Linked DNA regions of Homo sapiens: regions 1, 2, 3, 5, 6 and 7 are each linked to region 4. Evidence: promoter capture Hi-C in human tissues and cell types (Jung and others, 2019). All regions are on one chromosome and are shown on one strand. The core of a region is centred on a gene start or on the middle of the fragment in contact, and the rest is flanking DNA. Distances in the headings are between cores, read along the strand shown. Region 1 has its middle 33 kb from the start of SNORD3P3. Region 2 has its middle 58 kb from the start of SNORD3P3. Region 3 holds the start of SNORD3P3 (small nucleolar RNA, C/D box 3 pseudogene 3). Region 4 holds the start of FLRT2 (fibronectin leucine rich transmembrane protein 2). Region 5 overlaps LOC105370604 (a long non-coding RNA gene). Region 6 has its middle 140 kb from the start of SNORD3P3. Region 7 has its middle 230 kb from the start of SNORD3P3.

Evidence for each region. Contacts are between HindIII fragments. The study calls those that stand out against the background at their distance.
Region 1: a fragment that was not itself captured here is called in contact with the fragment with the promoter of FLRT2 in region 4 in 1 of the 25 tissues and cell types used here (H1 embryonic stem cells).
Region 2: a fragment that was not itself captured here is called in contact with the fragment with the promoter of FLRT2 in region 4 in 2 of the 25 tissues and cell types used here (H1 embryonic stem cells and mesenchymal stem cells).
Region 3: a contact is called between a fragment that was not itself captured here and the fragment with the promoter of FLRT2 in region 4, in 1 of the 25 tissues and cell types used here (mesenchymal stem cells).
Region 5: a contact is called between a fragment that was not itself captured here and the fragment with the promoter of FLRT2 in region 4, in 2 of the 25 tissues and cell types used here (hippocampus and mesenchymal stem cells).
Region 6: a contact is called between a fragment that was not itself captured here and the fragment with the promoter of FLRT2 in region 4, in 1 of the 25 tissues and cell types used here (lymphoblastoid cells).
Region 7: a fragment that was not itself captured here is called in contact with the fragment with the promoter of FLRT2 in region 4 in 1 of the 25 tissues and cell types used here (IMR-90 fibroblasts).

Annotation. Positions count from the first base shown.
Region 1 is chr14:85,237,162-85,239,913 of GRCh38, forward strand. No RefSeq gene overlaps it. Among named protein-coding and RNA genes, the nearest start is that of SNORD3P3, 33 kb to the right of the region's middle. The HindIII fragment of the contact is 6,552 bases long and covers 1-2,752 here.
Region 2 is chr14:85,212,385-85,215,103 of GRCh38, forward strand. No RefSeq gene overlaps it. Among named protein-coding and RNA genes, the nearest start is that of SNORD3P3, 58 kb to the right of the region's middle. The HindIII fragment of the contact is 4,104 bases long and covers 1-2,719 here.
Region 3 is chr14:85,269,393-85,272,368 of GRCh38, forward strand. SNORD3P3 (small nucleolar RNA, C/D box 3 pseudogene 3) reads left to right here and starts at 2,540; the gene lies at 2,540-2,669. The HindIII fragment of the contact is 3,942 bases long and covers 1-2,976 here.
Region 4 is chr14:85,528,879-85,531,741 of GRCh38, forward strand. It overlaps FLRT2 (fibronectin leucine rich transmembrane protein 2), which reads left to right and starts at 1,266. Exons shown (of 2, transcript NM_013231.6): 1 at 1,266-1,656. It overlaps FLRT2-AS1 (FLRT2 antisense RNA 1), which reads right to left and starts at 2,781. Exons shown (of 2, transcript NR_184170.1): 1 at 1-2,781. The HindIII fragment of the contact is 3,489 bases long and covers 1-2,863 here.
Region 5 is chr14:85,174,962-85,177,678 of GRCh38, forward strand. The region is part of intron 3 of LOC105370604 (a long non-coding RNA gene); the gene reads right to left. Among named protein-coding and RNA genes, the nearest start is that of SNORD3P3, 96 kb to the right of the region's middle. The HindIII fragment of the contact is 8,149 bases long and covers 1-2,717 here.
Region 6 is chr14:85,132,954-85,135,782 of GRCh38, forward strand. No RefSeq gene overlaps it. Among named protein-coding and RNA genes, the nearest start is that of SNORD3P3, 140 kb to the right of the region's middle. The HindIII fragment of the contact is 3,623 bases long and covers 1-2,829 here.
Region 7 is chr14:85,036,156-85,038,995 of GRCh38, forward strand. No RefSeq gene overlaps it. Among named protein-coding and RNA genes, the nearest start is that of SNORD3P3, 230 kb to the right of the region's middle. The HindIII fragment of the contact is 6,540 bases long and covers 1-2,840 here.

The DNA of each region.
Region 1 (2,752 bases), core at 45-2,544, 290 kb before region 4:
GACTGTAAGTAATGAGCTCAAATGCTTTTAAGCAACCTGGTTATAATCTATCAAAGCAGCTGTGTGAAAGTTGGCAATGAAGAATAAAATAAACATTCAAAAATATGAAAGTATACAGCTTTCTATATATTAACATGGTAATGGATGAGATGGTTTTGGAAAAGTAAGTAACTGGGTTACTTTATTTGTCATGAGATATTTATAATTTTAATTTCTGCTGTACTTTTAAAGTCAAATATAATAAATGGGGCTTAAAGCAACTGAATTTGTTTTGTTCTGTTTGTATTGTTGCTTTTGTTTTTAACTGAAGCATTTTAGAAAATGTGTATTCCACTCCCAGTGTCCTCTTTATAGATAGGGTCATTTCTAACACCCTAATTTGGGTTTCATTACATGTTGTCGTTCCATTGTAGAGTACCCAGTCTTATACAGCCATACCTGACCCTAAGCAATTACAGAGAATACACAGAGTTCAACCAAAATAGAAAATAAAAGCATGAATGCACTTGTATTCCCATGTAAGGAAAAATACTTGGGGCAAGAAAAGTAGACTTCAGGACAAAAATATAAGCAGACCAAGATATGAGATCCCATTATTTATTGAGCACCTTCTCTCTCTCTCTCTCTCTCTCTGTGTATATATACACACACATATATATGTCTATATATACATATATACACATACATACATATATACATACATATATACATACATACGCATGTGTGTTTGTGGAGATATACATATGTGTGTGTGTATATATACATATATGTATATCAGTCATTGAACCAGCTGATTTACAAGTAATATCTTACATAACCCTCTCCAAACCAAAATAAGATGTAGAAATATTGTTCCCATTTTATAAGTATGAAAATTGAATCTTGGAACGATTAGATAGGCCAAAGTCACAAAAACTGTGGTAGAGTTTCACTTGGAGTCCAAATTAGTTAGAAACCATTCTAAGTATGTTTAAAACTATTTCATGAACAAATAAAATATTGCTCAGATCAAACACTACCCTGTCCCCTCAACAATAAAAAAAATGGAAATGTTGAATGAAAAAAACAAAAGGAATATGACCCCAAGGAAAACATCCAGCACTTTCCAAATGAAGGCTAACTTGGAGAATGAAAGTAATTCCTATCTTGTTTTCCAAAGAAAACAAGCAGAATATTCAAAGGCTAGAAGAAAATCACATCCAGGACTTGATTAAGAAATGATTTAAGATTCTTCTAACTCCCATATCAATCTGTGTTTAGGTTTAGATGTGCCCCAACTAGTATTATTTCTAATTACACATTGCACTAATATTATTTCTGGTATCCAACAAAAATTTTTTAAAAAGTCAGAAACAAAGCAACTGTTAATTTGCAAGGGGAAAAACCTCTAAAATATTTAGAATTCAGTTAAATGTAATTCATATTGGAAATATTTCAAGTTTTGCCTTTATCTTAAGTTCTGATTTTGACTGTTAGACTTTTCTACATTTCAGAACATTCCAAATACTTGTCAATTTATTTTAACTTCTGGAAAAACGTAAGAGAAAAACCATTTATAAAAGCAACTGAGCAGCTGATAGAGTCTACATTGACTCAACCAAGAGTTCACAAATGTTCTTTGGTAACAGAAAAGGTAAAAGAAGTGTGGAATTTGATCTGAAGATTATATATTTTAATTTTGGGAATATTGATCCATTGCAAATGAAAGTGGAAGTCCCATTTTCTCTAGCTTGACTAAAATGGTTTCCCACAAAGACTCTGGGACCATATTAACATCTTCTATCTTATGTAAATTAGAAGTTAATGAACATAAAAACCATTAGTCTTCACTTATGTTCTAGAATTGAATCGATGCAATTGATTTTAAAGTTCAGAAGCACTCCATGTTTCAGTAAAGCATATAGAGGCTTTTAAGACTCTGATTTAGCACTATAAACAAGCCCATCAGATTGATAAGAATTCCCAGAAGAAACAGAAAGACAGCAGTTACTGAGCTTGGAATTCTACATGCATGACATGAAATCCTGCTTCTTTTCTTAACTTCATTCCTGACCTACTGAGGAGACAGGGTAAGTTATGCAAAACAGAACATAATGAGGTTCTTGTGTTCAAATTACATGAAGTCTCCATTCTTCCATAAAACTACACACACACACACACACACACACACACACACACACGGAGAGAGAGAGAGAGAGAGAGAAATAATCATATAGGTGCTAGAACATATTCTATAACTTACATAAAACAAGTTGAATTTTCATTTGAGTTTGAGGAGAAATATTATGGACCATGTTCAGTGGTGACCCAGTAACTCTTTCTGAATAATAACTCTTTCTGCTCCCCCACTGGGATTTCTGGGAGCTTTGCATTTACCTCACAGTGGTATGAGCCATGTGGTCACATCCTATAAAGTCATCACTTTCTAAGGTCACCAGATGTATGGAGAAAAGGCCAAGCAGGCTTCTTACTGAAGTCTTTAACCCCAGAGTCAACAACAGTGCACCATCAATTTAGTTAGAAAACAAGAATGACTTAGTGTCCCATTTCTGAGCAAAGATTTCTTCTGAATTAAGCCTCGTTTTTATTTAAAACAAGCAAACAAATGAGCAAACACTGCCAGATTGGAGTTGTAGTCTTCTCTTTTAACAGATGCAGTTGATTTCTCCAAACAAGTACTATTTCTTTGAAGTATACTTAATTATCAAGAAATGACAGGGTGTGGTGGTTTTTGCCTGTAGTCCCAGCTATT
Region 2 (2,719 bases), core at 192-2,691, 320 kb before region 4:
AGGTTGCCTGTTCACTCTGATGGTAGTTTCTTTTGCTGTGCAGAAGCTCTTTAGTTTAATTAGATCCCATTTGTCAATTTTGTCTTTTGTTGCCATTGCTTTTGGTGTTTTAGACATGAAGTCCTTGCCCATGCCTATGTCCTGAATGATATTGCCTAGGTTTTCTTCTAGGGTTTTTATGATTTTAGGTCTAACATGTAAGTCTTTAATCCATCTTGACTTAATTTTTGTATAAGGTGTAAGGAAGAGATCCAGTTTCAGCTTTCTACATATGGCTAGCCAGTTTTCCCAGCACCATTTATTAAATAGGGAATCCTTTCCCCATTGCTTGTTTTTCCCAGGTTTGTCAAAGATCAGATGGTTGTAGATATGCGGCATTATTTCTGAGGGCTCTGTTCTGTTCCATTGATCTATATCTCTGTTTTGGTACCAGTACCATGCTGTTTTGGTTACTGTAGCCTTGTAATATAGTTTGAAGTCAGGTAGTGTGATGCCTCCAGGTTTGTTCTTTTGGCTTAGGATTGACTTGGTGATGCAGGCTCTTTTTTGGTTCCATGTGAACTTTAAAGTAGTTTTTTCCAATTCTGTGAAGAAAGTCATTGGTAGCTTGATGGGGATGGCATTGAATCTATAAATTACCTTGGGCAGTATGGCCATTTTCACAATATTGATTCTTCCTACCCATGAGCATGGAATGTTCTTCCATTTGTTTGTATCCTCTTTCATTTCATTGAGCAGTGGTTTGTAGTTCTCCTTGAAGAGGTCCTTCACATCCCTTGTAAGTTGGATTCCTAGGTATTTTATTCTCTTTGAAGCAATTGTGAATGGTAGTTCACTCATGATTTGGCTCTCTGTTTGTCTGTTATTGTTGTATAAGGATGCTTGTGATTTTTGTACATTGATTTTGTATCCAAAGCAAAAGATTTTAAAGGTAGAATTGCAAAATGAAAACAACCTGGGTCCCTGAGTCACTATGTGGAGCAGTAGAGCTGCAGAGGAGAGCTATCTAACCTACATTGGACTGTAACATTAGTGATAAATAGATCTGTATCTTGCTGGTTAAGTCACTGAGATGTAAGAATTTATTTGTTACTGAAGAACATCCTAGCCCAAAATTGTAGGTAGGAGGATAATGTGATATTGTGATATGGTTTTGGAAAATTGTTTTTTTCTCCAAATAAATGTAAGCTCACTTCAGTAAATTTAACTTGAATTGAAATAGAAACAACTAGCCAACAATATGTGCTGTTCACTTTATCCCTACAAGATGTTGCAATACTGTTGAGTGAGGGCAAGGATAATATAAATGAAATGGTGCCAATGAATGAGAAAGTTTTCGTGATTTGAGAAATTCAGATAATATAAAAGTCCAAGACCTTATATGTAATATAAAAGTTATGTATATTCATGACTCTTCTTGACTTATCACCCTTCTTGATGAACATTAAGATGGTAACTGAAATAAGCTTCCTGGTATTTGCTGAGATTTGTGATTACAGGAAGAGATGATGAATGAGAATGAGAATGTCAGGGCAAGGTGTCTGTACAAGTTGACAACCCATGGAGAATGCTCATAAACTTCTTATCATGCATCTTCAAGTGTGTTCTGTATAGTATCTGTTACATAATGTCATTATATTTATTGTATAAAACTATAATACATAGACATAAATATTCTATAATTTGTCAATATGACCATTGAAATCTGGAAGAAACATGGGTATTTTCAAAGGCCAAGGAGATACAAAGACCTAGGGATGAAATCTTACCAACATCTGGCAAATGAGACATAGGTCAATGTTACAAATATTATTATTATTAATATTCTTTATTTCAAATCACATATGGTTACAATTGCCTTATTGCTATTAAAGTATTTCCAAGATCTTTATGGCTTATTAAAACAGTACACTTGTTGTGTAATTGTAAAAACAATTAATTATTTGAATGGGATTACATCAAGTTAAAAATCTTCTGCACAGCAAAGGCAACAATCAACAAAGTGAAGAGACAATCTACAGAATGGGAGAAAACAATTTTCAAGCTATCTATCTGACAAAGATATAATAACCAGAAAATATAAGGAGCTCAAACCACGAAATAGCAAAGAAAAATTTTTTTTGATTAAAAAATGAGCAAAAGATTTGAATAGACATTTCTCAGAAGAAGACACACAAATGGTTAATAGGTATATGAAAAATGTTAAACATGACTAATAATCAGAGAAACGCAAGTCAAAACCACAATGAGATATTATCTTACCTCAGAATGACTCTTATTAAAAAGTCAGGAACTAACAGATGCTGGTGAGGCTGTGGGAAAAAAAGAGCTCTCCTACACTATTGGTGGAAATGTAAATTGCCAAGGTGGGCTGATCACGAGATTAGGAGATTGAGACAATCCTGGCCAACATGGTGAAACCCCGTCTCTACTGAAATACAAAAAATTAGCCAGGTGTGATGGTGCATGCCTGTAGTCCCAGCTACTCGGGAGGCTTGAGGCAGGGGAATCGCTTGAACCCAGAAGGCGGAGATTGCAGTGAGCCAAGATTGCACCACTGCACTCCAACCTGGCAGTGAGACTCTGTCTAAAAATAAATGAATAAATAAATAAATAAAATAAATGGAGGTTCCTCAAAACACTCAAAATAGAACTATCATATGATTCAGTAATTCCACTACTGGTTATATAACCAAATAAAATATATCAATATGTGGAG
Region 3 (2,976 bases), core at 328-2,827, 260 kb before region 4:
ACATGAGGAAGTCCTGGATAACAATGTTGGAAATAGAAAGTAACACTTAGCCTACTCTATGTGCCAAGCACCATGAGAGATAATTCAATAAGTCATGTCATTTAATTCTCCCCCAAATTTCCAACTGCCTTAGTCTATTCAGGCTGGTGTAAGAAAACACCATAGGCTGGGTAGCCTGTAACAACAGAAACATATTTATCACAGTTCTAAAGGCTAGGAAGTCCAAGATCAGGGTGCCAGCATGGTCAGGTTCTGGTGAGGGCCCTCTTCCAGATACAGACTGCCAATTTCTTGCTGTGTCTTCACATGGTGGAAGGGGCCAGGTAGCTCTCTGGGGCCTCTTTTGTAAGGGCATGAATTCCATTCATAAGGACTCTACCCTCATGACCTAATCCCTTCCCCCAAATCCCCACCTCCTAATACCATCACCTTGGGGGTTATTTTAACATACAAATTTGAGGGGGACATGAACATTCAGAGCCAGCACCAACCAAGATGCAACTTATTATCTCCATTTTATAGATGATAAGACTGACTGAGAAATAAGATATCTTGTTCAGGAGCACAACGATGGAGATAGTCAGAGCCCAGATTGTAGTAAGCCAACTTCTTTTGGCTGCACCTCCTGACCTTTCAAATGACAGGCTAACACAAATGAACTCTATTTTATACTATACAGGTTTTACCTTTAGCCTCTCTAACAACTTTTCAAACACATTTATTCCCCAGCCTACCAAATATTCAACTTCAAGCTTCGGTCTACCTTAGATATTTCATATTTAACTAAAGTTTCAATTTTCAAGTCAATATTCCTAGCCACAGGCTCTCTCTCCAGTTCCAAACCTACGTTGCCCATTGTCCATTGGACACTCCTATCTTTCCTTCATATTTGTATTTTAGGTTCATAATAATTGGCACCCAGTAGTCTCTTTTCCTCTTAAAAACTCTTTCCCAACATAGTTATTTCTGCTGAAGGGTCTACTAAGTCCCTAGTCATCCAGGCCCAAAAAATCAGTCATATTGGCATCTTCTTTTTCTTTTATCCTTTGGACTAAATAAATTAACAAATCAGTCTGCAGAATTTATCCTCACAATGCCTTTCACAGTCATTGCAACCTTGCAATTCCCATTGGTTCCAATTATCACCTCCTGTTTTAAGCATTCCTCTGATATTATTTGCTTAAGAAGCCATTGAGTAGCTGTCCTTATGGTCCTGAGTAAATTTTCTCTATCATTCACTCTCATAACATTCTGTTTTTTTCCTAGCACTTTTAACAGTTGGAAATTATATTATTTACTTGTTTTATTATTTAATAGCTGTCTTGTCTACTAAAGTGTAACTTTTGTGAAAGCAAGGATCGCTTCTTCATTCTACCACCTATGCCCCTCTCAACGTCTGACACACAGGAGATGTGCTTAGTAAATATAGCCAAGTGAATAGTCTTTCCAAAAATCTACTTCCCATTTCTGTTCGCAATACCTCCTGCATTCAGCTGTCAGAGAAATGTTTCTTGAAGTGTAGCTCTAAGAAGCCATTTTTCTAGTTTAATCATCTATTATTTACCTATTGCCTATTAAGTTAGTTATTAACTACTACTAGTTCTAGCATTCAGACTCATAGGGTCCTCTGCAATGTGAATACAAACTACACTTCTATGCACAATTCCCTTACTCTCTTTGTCTCTAAATCAAATGCTGTTTAGTTTTCTGTCTCTATGCCTTCTGTGTGTGTTTGTAGCATCTTCCAGAATGTCCTGTCCCTGTATCAGTCAGTTTAAACTACATTTTTCTCTAGTAATGAATAGATTCCAAACCTCAGTGGGTTAAAACCACAGAGGTGTATTTCCCACTCACATTTCCTGCTTATCATGTTTGCCTGTGGCTTTTTTCCTTGCCCCTCCATTCTCAGAATAAGCTAATAGAGCAACTCCTCTCTAGAACACAACAGTCACTTGGCAGAAGGAACAGAGAGATGGTGGGACTCTGAAAGCTTTTTCTTGGAAATGGTGAACATTTTATTAACGAAAGGCAGTTATTTGACAAAATCTAACCTTAATGGAGTAAGGAGTATAATACCTCTCCATGTACTGGCCCAGTATGGAGAAGTGGTGAATATTTTCACTGCAATACTGTATCAGTCTGTTCTCACGCTGCTAATAAAGACACATTTGGGACTTGGTAATTTATAAAGGAAAAAGGTTTCATAAACTCACAGTTCCGCATAGCTGGGGAGGCCTCACAATCATGACGGAAAGCGATTAAGGAACAAAGTCACGTCTTACATGGCGGCAGACAGGAGAGAGCTTGTGCAGGGGAATTCCCATTTATGTAACCGTCAGATCTCCTGAGACTTATTCACTACCATGAGAACAGTATGGGGGAAACTGCCCTTATGCTTCAATTATCTCCACCTGGCCTTACCCTTAACATGTGGGGATTATTACAGTTCAAGGTGAGATGTGGGTGGGGACACAGCCAAACCGTATCAAATACCATCTACTTCACCTTTCTATCTCAGTCATTAAAATGCTAATTATCCAAGACTATACTTTCAGGGATCATTTCTATAGTTTGTTACTAGAGAAGTTTCTCTGAACGTGTAGAGCACTAAAATGCTAATTATCCAAAGAGACCCATGTCACTGAGATGCTTTTCCCCATTCTCCCAGCCAATACTACATTGAAAACACAAAGCATATTACTTAAACCTATCTTCTAAACTTATTTTTCTCTACTTTTCTTATTCTATCATTCCTCAAAACCCCATATTCCGATTGCAAGTTTTACTAAGACCTGGTGGCTATGGCATGTAACACTCAGCAAAATGCCTTGAACACAGTAGATGTTAATAAATGTTTATTGAACGTAGTTGATTTAATCACAAGTAATGAGACATTGAATACTTTTATGCTAAGAAGAATATGAACAAACTATATTTCAAGCTGATTAATATGGTAACTGAAACAGTATTTGCTTC
Region 4 (2,863 bases), core at 16-2,515:
ATAACATCTATCTCATGGGAAAACACACTTTCTCTGTTTTTAAATAACTCCGTTTCAGCAAGATCCATGTGTGTAGCCTCTGAATACTCTATAAAGGCTCCGTATTTCTTTCTTTCTTTCCTTAGTCCGGAATGGAGACAGAAGAAAGATTCGGTTGAAGATGTCCCTGTGTGGATCTCAGTTTGCGCTCTGAGCGACGTCCTGGCTCATTTGGGTGTGACGGTGAGAGCAGAGGCGCTCTGCTGACAGTTTTTTCTTGTCTAAGCTTCCATTCCGCATCCACAATATGACTCGCCTTCCACTCCAGTTAACTTCTTGGAAGTCCAGAGCACTTAGTCAAAGCTGTTTACAAAATGCAAAGCATCTGGGCGGCCAAGGCAGAGGCTCCTGTGTTCTCTATGTAACCGCCTCCAAAAAAGCTGGGAAATTTCGCGGATCAAAATGTAGGCGCTTAAAGCTGACCCTCTGCTGTCAATGTTGGGACTTAGATACATTTTTTGCATCGTCATTCTTGTGTGTGTTTCCCGTTTATTCCATTCTAAGGCTCAGGCTCGCGCTGTTTCTCTCGCGCGCGCTGTCCCCTCTCTCCATTTCCCATTCACACATCAAACTCCGTCCTCCGCACCCCTATCTTCCCGTGTCTTCTTAGTTATGTGAATGTGTGTCATTAGGCTTACTCGGACACTGGATGGGTGAGTGGGAGGCAGCTTTTCTTGCGGTTTCATTTACACTTGGCATGGGTGGGTGGGTGCCCTCCACAATTCGTCTCGCACACGGAACACAGTTAAAATCTGTAGCTAGAACGAGTGAAAAGTTCCGAATCTTTAAAGCGCAGCTAGGACAGGAAATAATACAGGGTTGGGGGATGTGGACGGGGGCGGAGAGCAGAGAAGTAAAGGAATAAAACCAACTTCGCTGGCAACTTCAATAAATCCGGTAACTGGAGGCAAAAAATAGACTCCGAGGGCTGGGTCTGGTCCGGATGAAACGCTAGGGCTCCTTCCCTTCCTTGAATCTTGGGCGCTGGAAGCCAGCCACGGGCGTCTTGCCACGCGAGTGCCCCTAGACAGCAACACACCCACTGGAAACGCACGTGAACAAAGCTCTCGCCCCCGGGAGCCGCTGCCTGCGGTTTCCTAGTCGATCCCAGCTTCTCTAGGGAGTGTCAGGCGCACACAGGGTTAAGTTAGTTCCCTCCCTGGTAGGAGGGAGAGGAGGAGGAGGGGAAAAGCAGCATACTGTCTCAGGCTGGGTACCTTGTAGTTAGTTGTACGTTCGAAACCTGTCGCCGTCACTTGCGCGTTTGGCATTATCCATTGTCACCGCGGAGGAACGAGCGCTCGAGATATCATCAGTGCCCGCAAATCTCCGCGCCAAGGCGCTGAGCTACTCCTTTCCGAGGTGCGCCTCTGGTCCTCCGTCCCTGGTGCCCAGCAGCGGCGAGGCGGCATCTCCGCTCCCGCCGCCGTGTCCACCGAGCCCTGGGATCAGGGTGGCAGTTCTCAACGATGGGCAGGAGGGACCTCGGCGGCGACCCCTAAAACAATACCATGCCCCGGGATCCCCGCTGCTGCCGCGCCAGCGTCTTCCCTTTCCACCTCCCTGACCCTGTCGGATTCGGATGAGCCCATTGCAAGGAGAAGACGCAGCCGTCAGGTAAAAGGGGCTGCGTTGCCAGGTGAAGTTTCCAGTAACCGGCCGAGCTGCTGCTACGCTGGCACCACGCTGTCTCTTCGGGGGATTTTTTTTTTTTGAAAGAGCTGGGGGTGGTCATCTTAAGTGGGGTGCTCTAGGCTTTGTCTTTCACCTGGAGAGAAAATAGGCAGCTTAGCTCTCTCTCGACTTTGGGGACATCTGTCTGCTGGTCGAATCCACCTCCTCTACGGAGCATCATGACTGAGTTCTGGGTCAAAACGCAAATTTTCTTGCCTGGTAGATGCATCGATGCTAAATTGGGGTTCTCAGTGCCCCTAACCTTGTCAGAGTTCAGTCTCCTACTTCCCTAGATTGAATCTCTTAACTTTCACCAGTAACAACCCTCTCCCCTCCACAAGCTGTTGTTAATGTCACCAGCGTTATTATCAGGCTGTTGTATCTAAAGACACCAACCTACTACCTGCCCGTAATCTGGGATCTATTAGCAGTTAAACAGATGCGGTGGATACTAATTCCTTTTCCTTCCAGTTGGTGGGGGCGGGTGGGGCTTTTTCCAAAACCAAGTCCCTTCCAGCCCTGCTTGTCCTCTTCGGGCTGGCGGGCACTGAGCTGGGGCCATCACGCCTTTCTAGAGCGCCTGCGGAGGTGGCGAAGGCTTGGAGAGCATACGAGGCGGAATCCGGATCGAGTGAGTTCCTTGAGCCGCTTGCGTGGGACGCAGGGAGAGGGCGAATAACGCCCTCAGGCGCTGAATGCAGGGGCAAGGAGCCAGCGAGGGTGGCTGGAGCAGGCCTTGCCAGCTGTTACCAAGTCTCTCCACAGGCTTGGGGGCTTGGGGCCTCCTGGAAAGATCCCTCCGCCGCGCTGACCAGTACGGGGCTCGCTCCCGCACTTTGAAGGCTGCCGCGGTCTTTCGTCATTTATAATCAAGCCCAAGATCAAGGTTGCAAGCTGAGGTCGGGGTACTGACAACGGGAATGAAGCCATAGGGGAAGAGGATAACTGGGACGGGCTGGACCCATACTTGATACCCGGGAAACTCCTAGAGCGTGTGGTGCTCCTGCCAGCGGCAGTTACTGGTGGAGCTGAGGCCACCGCTACTGTCGTCGTTGGCGCTTTGCTTCTGGAACCTCCCAGCAAGATGGCACTCACTGTCTGTTCCCTTCCGATTAGCACCCCCAGCCGCGCTCCCTCCTCCCCGGGATAC
Region 5 (2,717 bases), core at 70-2,569, 350 kb before region 4:
ACTAACTGATGTTTCACTTCAATTCCCAAAGTAGGACAAAGCTGGTGTCCCAGTTCAAATGAAGTCAGGCAGGAGCAATTCACTATTTCTCAGAGGAGGGTCAGACTTTTTGTTTGTTTGTTTGTTTGTTTAATTTAGGCTTTCAACTGATTGGATGAGGCTCACCCACTTCAGGGTGGGCAATCTGCTTTACTCAGCTTACTGATTTAAATGTTAATCTCATCCATAACCACCCTTATAGAAATACCCCATATAATGTTGGGCCATTTATATGGGCACCCCATGTCCCAGTCAAGTTGACACATGAAATTATCTATTACACCCCCTCAGCGTAAATGCATAAACACACACATACACACACACACACACACCCCACCCCCCACACACACCCCTACCTTACAGTATCTACATTTTTTTGTTTGATCTTTTTCACTCAACAGTATACTTGTGAGTTGTTGCAGTCATTTTATTATTAGTTCTGTACCCTATTTCATTTTGGGGAAATATACCAAAATATACTTATCTCATTTTACTATTAATGAGCATTTGGGGAGTTTGCAATTTGTGCTGCTCATACTTTTTTTTTTTTTTGGTTGACCATCTATGGAAATTTCTATAGGCATATACTTAGGGATGGAATTGCTGGGCTATGACAGTTGATTATGATCAGCATTAGTATATCTTCTGTAAACAGACCATTCAGTCCAGGAAAACTTCCATATTGGATGATGTAGCAGAATTTCCAGGATGTCTAAGTTTCTGTTGCTCAATCCTCTTACCAAGAAAATATGTGCATGAGGATAATGCCAAAGATTACAGAACAGATGCTCATCTCCCTGGATTATCAATTTTTATGTCATAAAGACCTCAGATACCAAAGCCCACAGGCCAATGCACTTATTTGGAGGTTGTTAAACTGATATCATATGTTTATGCAGGAATATCGCCAATTTGTGGTCCTTTGCATTTTTTGACTAATTCAATAGGGTTATTTTTTTCTAACTGCTTTAAGAATTCAAAATTTATATAAGTACTATTCAGTGTCAGAAATTTAGAAAATATAGATAAAATGAAATGAACGTTAAAAATCTTCTGTGAATTTATAAATTAAAACTTTAATCATCTTGAAGCCCTTAAATGGCCAAGGGATATATCCCTTGCCTCAAACTATACTTCTGGTTCCTTAGCATGGACCTTTATGATATGACCTCTGCCTTAATGTTTTTCATTTATGGCCTCATTCTCTGTGAACCACTTCTATTTCTAGGACTATTTCAGGCTATTTCTCATTCTGGGTATTGAACACCAACCTTCTCCCCTTCCTGTGAGAGGGTATTACAAGCCCTATTTTACAAGACAGAAAAGAATCAGAGAGAATAAGTCACTAGCAAGCATCACACAGGAGAGCCAAGTTCCAACCCACATCTCTCTCTTTCCATGCTGAATTATTTAGCCATTCTTCTCCATTACTCTTACTGTCCCTGGTAAAGACTTCTCTGGCCTCCCAAAATTGTATAAGACATTTTTTCTTTGTGTTCCAATAGCCACCTGTGCACATAATCTTAATACATTCACTTCCTTGCTTAAAGTGTTACCATCATTTCATTTTAAGCTGCATGAGGGTAGGCTCTGCCTTCTTGACAGAAATCTCAAATAGCTGCCATTCATCATCTCATCTTGTGGTTTTGCTTTTTCTATGCTCTTTACTCTCTGAAAATTATATCAATGGCATGTTTACTTGTTTATTATCTGTTATGCAGGCTCCTCACTGACTGGGGATTTTGCTGGCCTGCACACCACTGTTTCCCCAGCACTCACAGATGTGCTGGGCACATGGCAGACCCCAGAGAATAATTAAAATGAATAAATAATGGGCACTAATATATTTAATGGGTAAACACACTATGCACATTTATATTTGTACTCTTTACGAGGGCCCTAGATTTCATCCTCATGCAAATAAATCATTGAAGGGATGGGATTTACATGGTTGTTTACCTTTTCTAAAAAGAAAAGGGCGGTAGTCCCCATGCTGTCCAGAGGCCATACTGAATGCTTATTTTTGTGAGTCTGAGATATGAGTGTCTTTCTTGACATTAAAATATTAATTATTAATGTAATTATCCTTGAATAATGCTCAGTGGAAACATGTATTAGTCTGCTCGGGCTGCCACAATAAGATACAACTGGGTGCCTTAAACAACAGAATTTTACTTACTTATAGTTCTGGAGGCCACAAGTCCTCGAAAGAGGTCCAGCAAGGTTGGTTCCTGGCCAGAGCTTTCTTTCTGGCTTGCAGACAATCCCCTGATCACTTTGTCCCCACATGACCTTCCCATATGCATGGAAAGAAAGCAAAGGAGCTCTCTGGTGTCTCTTCTTTAAGGTGGCTAATCTAATTGAAGCAGGCCCCACCCTGTTGACCTCATTTCACCTTAATTACCTCCTTATGGATCCTGTCTCTAAATATAGCCATATTTAGGGTTTAGGGTTCAATATAAACATTTGGATAGAACACAATTTATTCCATAGTCGAAGGCATACTATTGCAATCTGTCAGGCATTCCAGTTGTGATAAAATCCTTCCTTCTTGAGCTAAGTACAGGCATTTCATGTGAAAAATCTTGTCTAAGAGACATTTGAAGGATTGTTTGATGTGTTAGAAGCTCTTTCAGTATTAATCTGCTTCAAGTACTCCTGCATGTCTGCCTATTGCC
Region 6 (2,829 bases), core at 7-2,506, 400 kb before region 4:
AATTTAAGATTAAAATTATATCAAGTATTTTTCCTCCAAAAATAATATCAATGTAGAAATAAATAACAGAAGGAATTTTAGATAATTTACAAATATATGAAAATTAAATAAAATAGTCCTAAACAACCTATGGGTCAATGAAAAAATTTTAAAAATAGTTTTTTAAAATTTTGAAACAAATGAAAATGGAAACACATCATACCAAAACTTTTGGAATATATAGCAAAAGCAGTTTTAAGAGGAAAGTTTAAAGCAATAAAAGCGTACATTAAAAAAGAAGAAAGATCTCAAATAAACAACCTAACATTACATCACAAAGAATGAGAAATAGGGCAAAGTAAGCCCAAAGTTACTAGAAGAAAAAAATAATAAAAATTAAAACAGAAATAAATGAAATAAAAACTTAAAAAAAAACAGACAAGATCCAAAAAACTGAGAATTGTTTTTTGTAAAGATAAAATTAATAATACCTTAGTTAGACTAATTAAGAAAAAAATGAGTGAAGACTCAAATGAATAAAATTGTAAATGAAAGAGGGGGACATTACAAGTGACACCACGTAGATCAAAGGACCATCAGAAACTACTATAACAATCGTATGCCACAAACGTGGATAACCTAGAAGAAATGGATGCAGTCCTAGAAACTACAAGCTACCAAGACTGAACCATGAAATAATAAAATACATGAACAAATTAATAATGAATAAGGAGATTTAATCAATCACCAAAAATTTCCCAACAAAGAAAAGCTCAAGGTCAGATGGCTTCACTGGTGAGTTCTACCATTTTAAAAAGAATAAATGTCAATTCTTCTTAATCTATTCCAAAAAATTGAAGATGACGGGATACTTCCAAACTAATTTCATGAAGCCAGCATTATCCTAATAACAAGCCAGGCCAGGACACCATAAGAAAAGAACATTGCAGGCCAATGTCCCTGATGAACATAGATGCAAAAATCCTCAACAAAATGCAGCCATTCATCTATATCCATAGGGTACTGTTCCCAGGATCTTCCACAAATATCATAATCCACAGATGCTAAAGTCCCTGATATAAAATTGCATAGCATTTGCATATAAGCATATATATACCTGCCTGTATGTTTTGTCCTCTGAAGCTTGTTTATAATATCTAATACAATGTAAATGTCATGTAAGTAGTTGTTATACTATATTGTTTAGGTAATAATGACAAGAAATGAAAGTCTGAACATGTTTAGTACAAATGCAATTTTTTTCCAATTTTCTTCATCTGTGGTTGGTTGAATCCATGGATGATGAACCCATGGATATGGATGGCCAACTGTTCTAGCAAACTGAACTCAATAGCACAATAAAAGGATCTCACAACATAATCAATGAGACATATCCCTGTAATTCAAGGATGGTTCAACATACATAAATTAATCATTATGATGTACCCCATTAACAGAATGAAGGATAAAAATTATATAATCATCCCAATAGGTGGGAAAAGTCAACATACGTTCTTAATGAAAATTTTCACCAAAGTATTTATAGAGAAAATGTACCTCAATATAGTAAAAACCATATATCAAAGGCCTACAGCTAACATCTTACTCAATGGTAAAAAGCTGAAAGCTCTTCCTCTAACATGAGGAATAAGGCCAGACACAGTGGGTCACCCCTGTAAACCCAGCACTTTCGGAGGCCGAGGCAGGCAGATCACCTGAGGTCAGGAGTTTGAGACCAGCCTGGCCAACATAGAGAAACCCAGTCTCTACTAAAAGTACAAAAAATTAGCCGGGCAAGGTGGCAGGTGCCTGTAATTCCAGCTATTTGAGAGGCTGAGGCAGGAAAATCTCTTGAATCCAGGAGGCAGAGGTTGCAGTGAGCCGAGGTTTTGTCATTGCACTCCAGCCAGGGTGATAGAGGGAGACTTCATCTAACAACAACAACAAAAAAAAAAACGAAGAAGAAGAAGATAAGAATGTCGATTCTTGCCACTTCTATTCAACATAGTACTGAAAGACCTAGTCAGGTCAATTAGTCAGGAAAAAAAATTTTTAAATTAAAACATCAAAATTAAAATAAAAAATAAGTAAAATTATATCTGTTTGCAGGTGGCATCATCTTATATATAGAAAACCCTAAAAACTCCACATGAACAAAACTCGTTAGAACTAAAAAATGAATTCAGGGAAGTTGTAAGATACAAAATCAACACAGAAGAATCAGCTGCCTTTCTATACACTAACAACAAAGTATCTAAAAAAAAATGAAGAAAGCAATTCCATTGATAATGCATCCAGAAGAATAAAATACTTAGGAATAAATTTAACCAATGAGATTTAAGATCTGTTCACTGAAAATTATAAAACATTGACTAAAGAAGTTGAAAATATAAATATATTAAAAGATATCCTACAATAATGAATTAAAAGGATTAATATTGTTAAAATAGCCATACTAACCAAAGTAATCTACACAGTCAGTACAATCTCTATAAATATAAAGTCCAATGGCATTTTCCACAGAAATAGAAAACGAAAACAAAAAATTTGTGTGAGACCACAAAAGCACCAAAATAGTCAAAGCAATCTTGAGAAAAAGGAACAAAGCTAGCTAGAGACATCACACTTCTATATTTCAAATTTTATTACAAAGCTGTAATAATCAAAATTGTGTGGTATTGACATAAAAACAGACACATAGACCAATGGAATAGAAATGCCTATCCAGAAATAAACCTACACATAAACAGTCAATTAGTCTTCAACAAGAGCACCAAAAATACTAAATGGATACATATAGTCCACAATAAATGATGCTGGGAGAACTGGATATCTACATGTAAAAAAATG
Region 7 (2,840 bases), core at 21-2,520, 490 kb before region 4:
CTCACTCACTATCAAGAGAACAGCAAGGGGGGATGTCCGCCCCGTGATTCAATCACCTCCCACCAGGCCCCTCCTCTGACACATGGGAATTACAATTTGACATGAGATTTGGTTGAGGACACAGAGCCAAACCACATTAAGGGCTTTGAGTATTTTGAGGAGTAGTAGCAAGTATTTTGTACAATACTCCACACTGGAATTTTTCTCATGTTTTTCTCATGATAAGGCTGAGGTTATGGGTTATCTGGAGAAAGATCTCAGAGGTAAAGTGCTATTGCCATCATATCATATTCAGAATACATACTATCAACATGATATGACTGTTGTTGGGCTTTATCACCTGAAGTATGTAGGGTTTGTCCTTTTTCTCCACTGTAAATTTTCTCTTCTTCTCCTACCCCACCCTAATTTTTATATGCTTTGGAAGGAAGTCACTGTGTTTAGCCCACACTTACAGAGAACAGAATTAATCTCCCCCTCTTTGAAGGCAGAGTATTTACATAAATTATTTGGAATTCTTCTATATGGGAGATTTGTTTCCTTTCCTCCATGTATAAATTTACTCATTCATTTATATCAGTATGGACTCATAAATATTTATTTTATACTTTGAGTTATAATGAGCATGTTATTTATTAATGTGCATACTGTAAGAATTTAATATCCACCAACTCAATGTGGGATTCCCAAACAATACTCTGATGTCCTTCTGGGAGACAGTGCTCTGTGAGTCTCTCCATGAAATTCTACATATATGTCAGGCAGAGACACTGTATTAGTCAAGATTCTTCAAAGACACAGAACCAATAGGATGAATGGATGGATAGATAGATAGATAGATAGATAGATAGGGGATAAAGGAGATTTATTAGAGGAATTGGCTCGTGTGATTATGGAGGTTAAAGAGTCCCATCAAAAGCTGTCTGTAAGCTGGGGACCCAGGGAATCCAGTGACATGGTTCAGTCCAACTCCAAAAGCCTCACAACCAAGGAAGCCAATGGTGTAACTCTCAGTCTGAGGCCAAAGGCCCAAGACCTCTGGGCAATTGCTGGTGCAAGTCCCGTAGTCCAAAGACTAGAGAATCTGGAGTCCTAATGTCCATGGGCAGGAGAAGAAGGGTGAACCAGCTTCAGAAGAAAGAGCAAATTTGCCTTTCCTCTGCTTTTTATTCTCTCCAGGGCCCCCGCTGATTGGATCGTGCCCCCCAACATTGAGGGCTGATCTTTCATACTAAGTCCACCAACTCATAGGCCAATATCTTCCAGAAATGCCCTCACAGACACACCCAGGAACAACGCTTTACCAGTTATCAGGTATCTTTTAATCCAGTCAAGTTGGCAGTTGAAATTAACCATCAAAGACACTAACTCCCTTTTTGCTTTAGACTAAAATGTCAGGAATGTTTGGGTACCAAACAGCCTTACATGATAGAAGTACTATGTACCTCCAGGGCAGAAGGCAGTTGTTTTTACTGCTCTATATAAAATACTTGGGTCCCCTAAGGTCAGAATTACTCATGTATGATGCTAACCCATTGTGTGGGTGGTGTCTCTGTAGACTCCTCTACATTGTCCTTATGGGATTCGGGAGCAAGGTGAATTGGTGCTCATGATTGTTTTGCTCTTAGTGATAAACTCCTTTGTCTTTTACCCTGCAGTCTAATGACTTTTTTAATGACAAGCATTCAAAAAGTTGTGCTGTACTAACTTCTTAGCTTGCAAGCAAGGTAACATCTCAGGTCCTTCAGAGTTCTTGACAACCCCGCATAAAAAACTCACCAAAAAAAAAAAAATTAATGCTCACAAACAAATATGTCTACCACTCTCCCATGTCAAAGTTTTAATGTAATTTACATTCAACTGCCAGCGTCCCCCACCCACCTCCTTGCACTGATGGCACCTGCACTCAAAGTCACTTGTAAGAGTCTCACCTTTGCCCTGGCATATGAAGCCACATAGTAAGCCAGTGTCTGTGCCAAAGGCACTGAGTCTCATTGCTCACAAAGCTCAGACTCCTGGAGTGAGACTAGTGCTGGCTATGAGAAGCAGCAAAGAAAATATCTCCCCCTCCAATTTGATGTTCCACACAATCTGATACATGAATCCAAAGTACTTCTTTAACCTAGAATCGAGAAACCCTATTTTTTTTAGAGAGTCTTGCTCTGTCACCAGGCTGGAATGCGGTGGTACAATCTCGACTCACTGCAACCTCTGCCTCCCAGGTTCAAGTGATTCTCTTGCCTCAGCCTCCTGAGTAGCTGGGATTACAGGCACCCACAACCACGCCCGGCTAATTTTTTGTATTTTTAGTAGAGACGGGGTTTCACTATGTTGGCCAGGCTGGTCTCGAACTCCTGACCTCAGGTGATCCACCGGCCTCGACCTCCCAAAGTGCTGGGATTCCAAGCATGAGCCACCACGCTGGGCCCAAAAACACTTTCACGTGCATGTGGTTCTTCTTTCTGCATCTAGGTTTCAAAAACATTTGGGAATTTCCTAACTAAAGTTACCCGTAATGGTTGCAGATATCTCTTACTCAGTCTAAAGGTTTTCTCTAAACAAAGCAAGGGTGTGAAATTTGGTTTCTGCAGATGTAGGTTTTGTGCAACACTTAGGGTTATTTTGGTCATGAATAATAGAAACCACAACCCAAATTGGCTTATGTTAAAAAAGAATTAATTTCCCTTCTTAACAGATTGAATTAAAAAGAAAAAAGGCCATGCAAAGCTTGATCCGGTTTACACATGTACTTAGCCTGTTGTTCTCAATGGCAGTATTTTTTTCAGCCTGCAAGGGTACGGTTTCATTGCAAAGCAGACCATGTGTGGCTTCAAGATGGC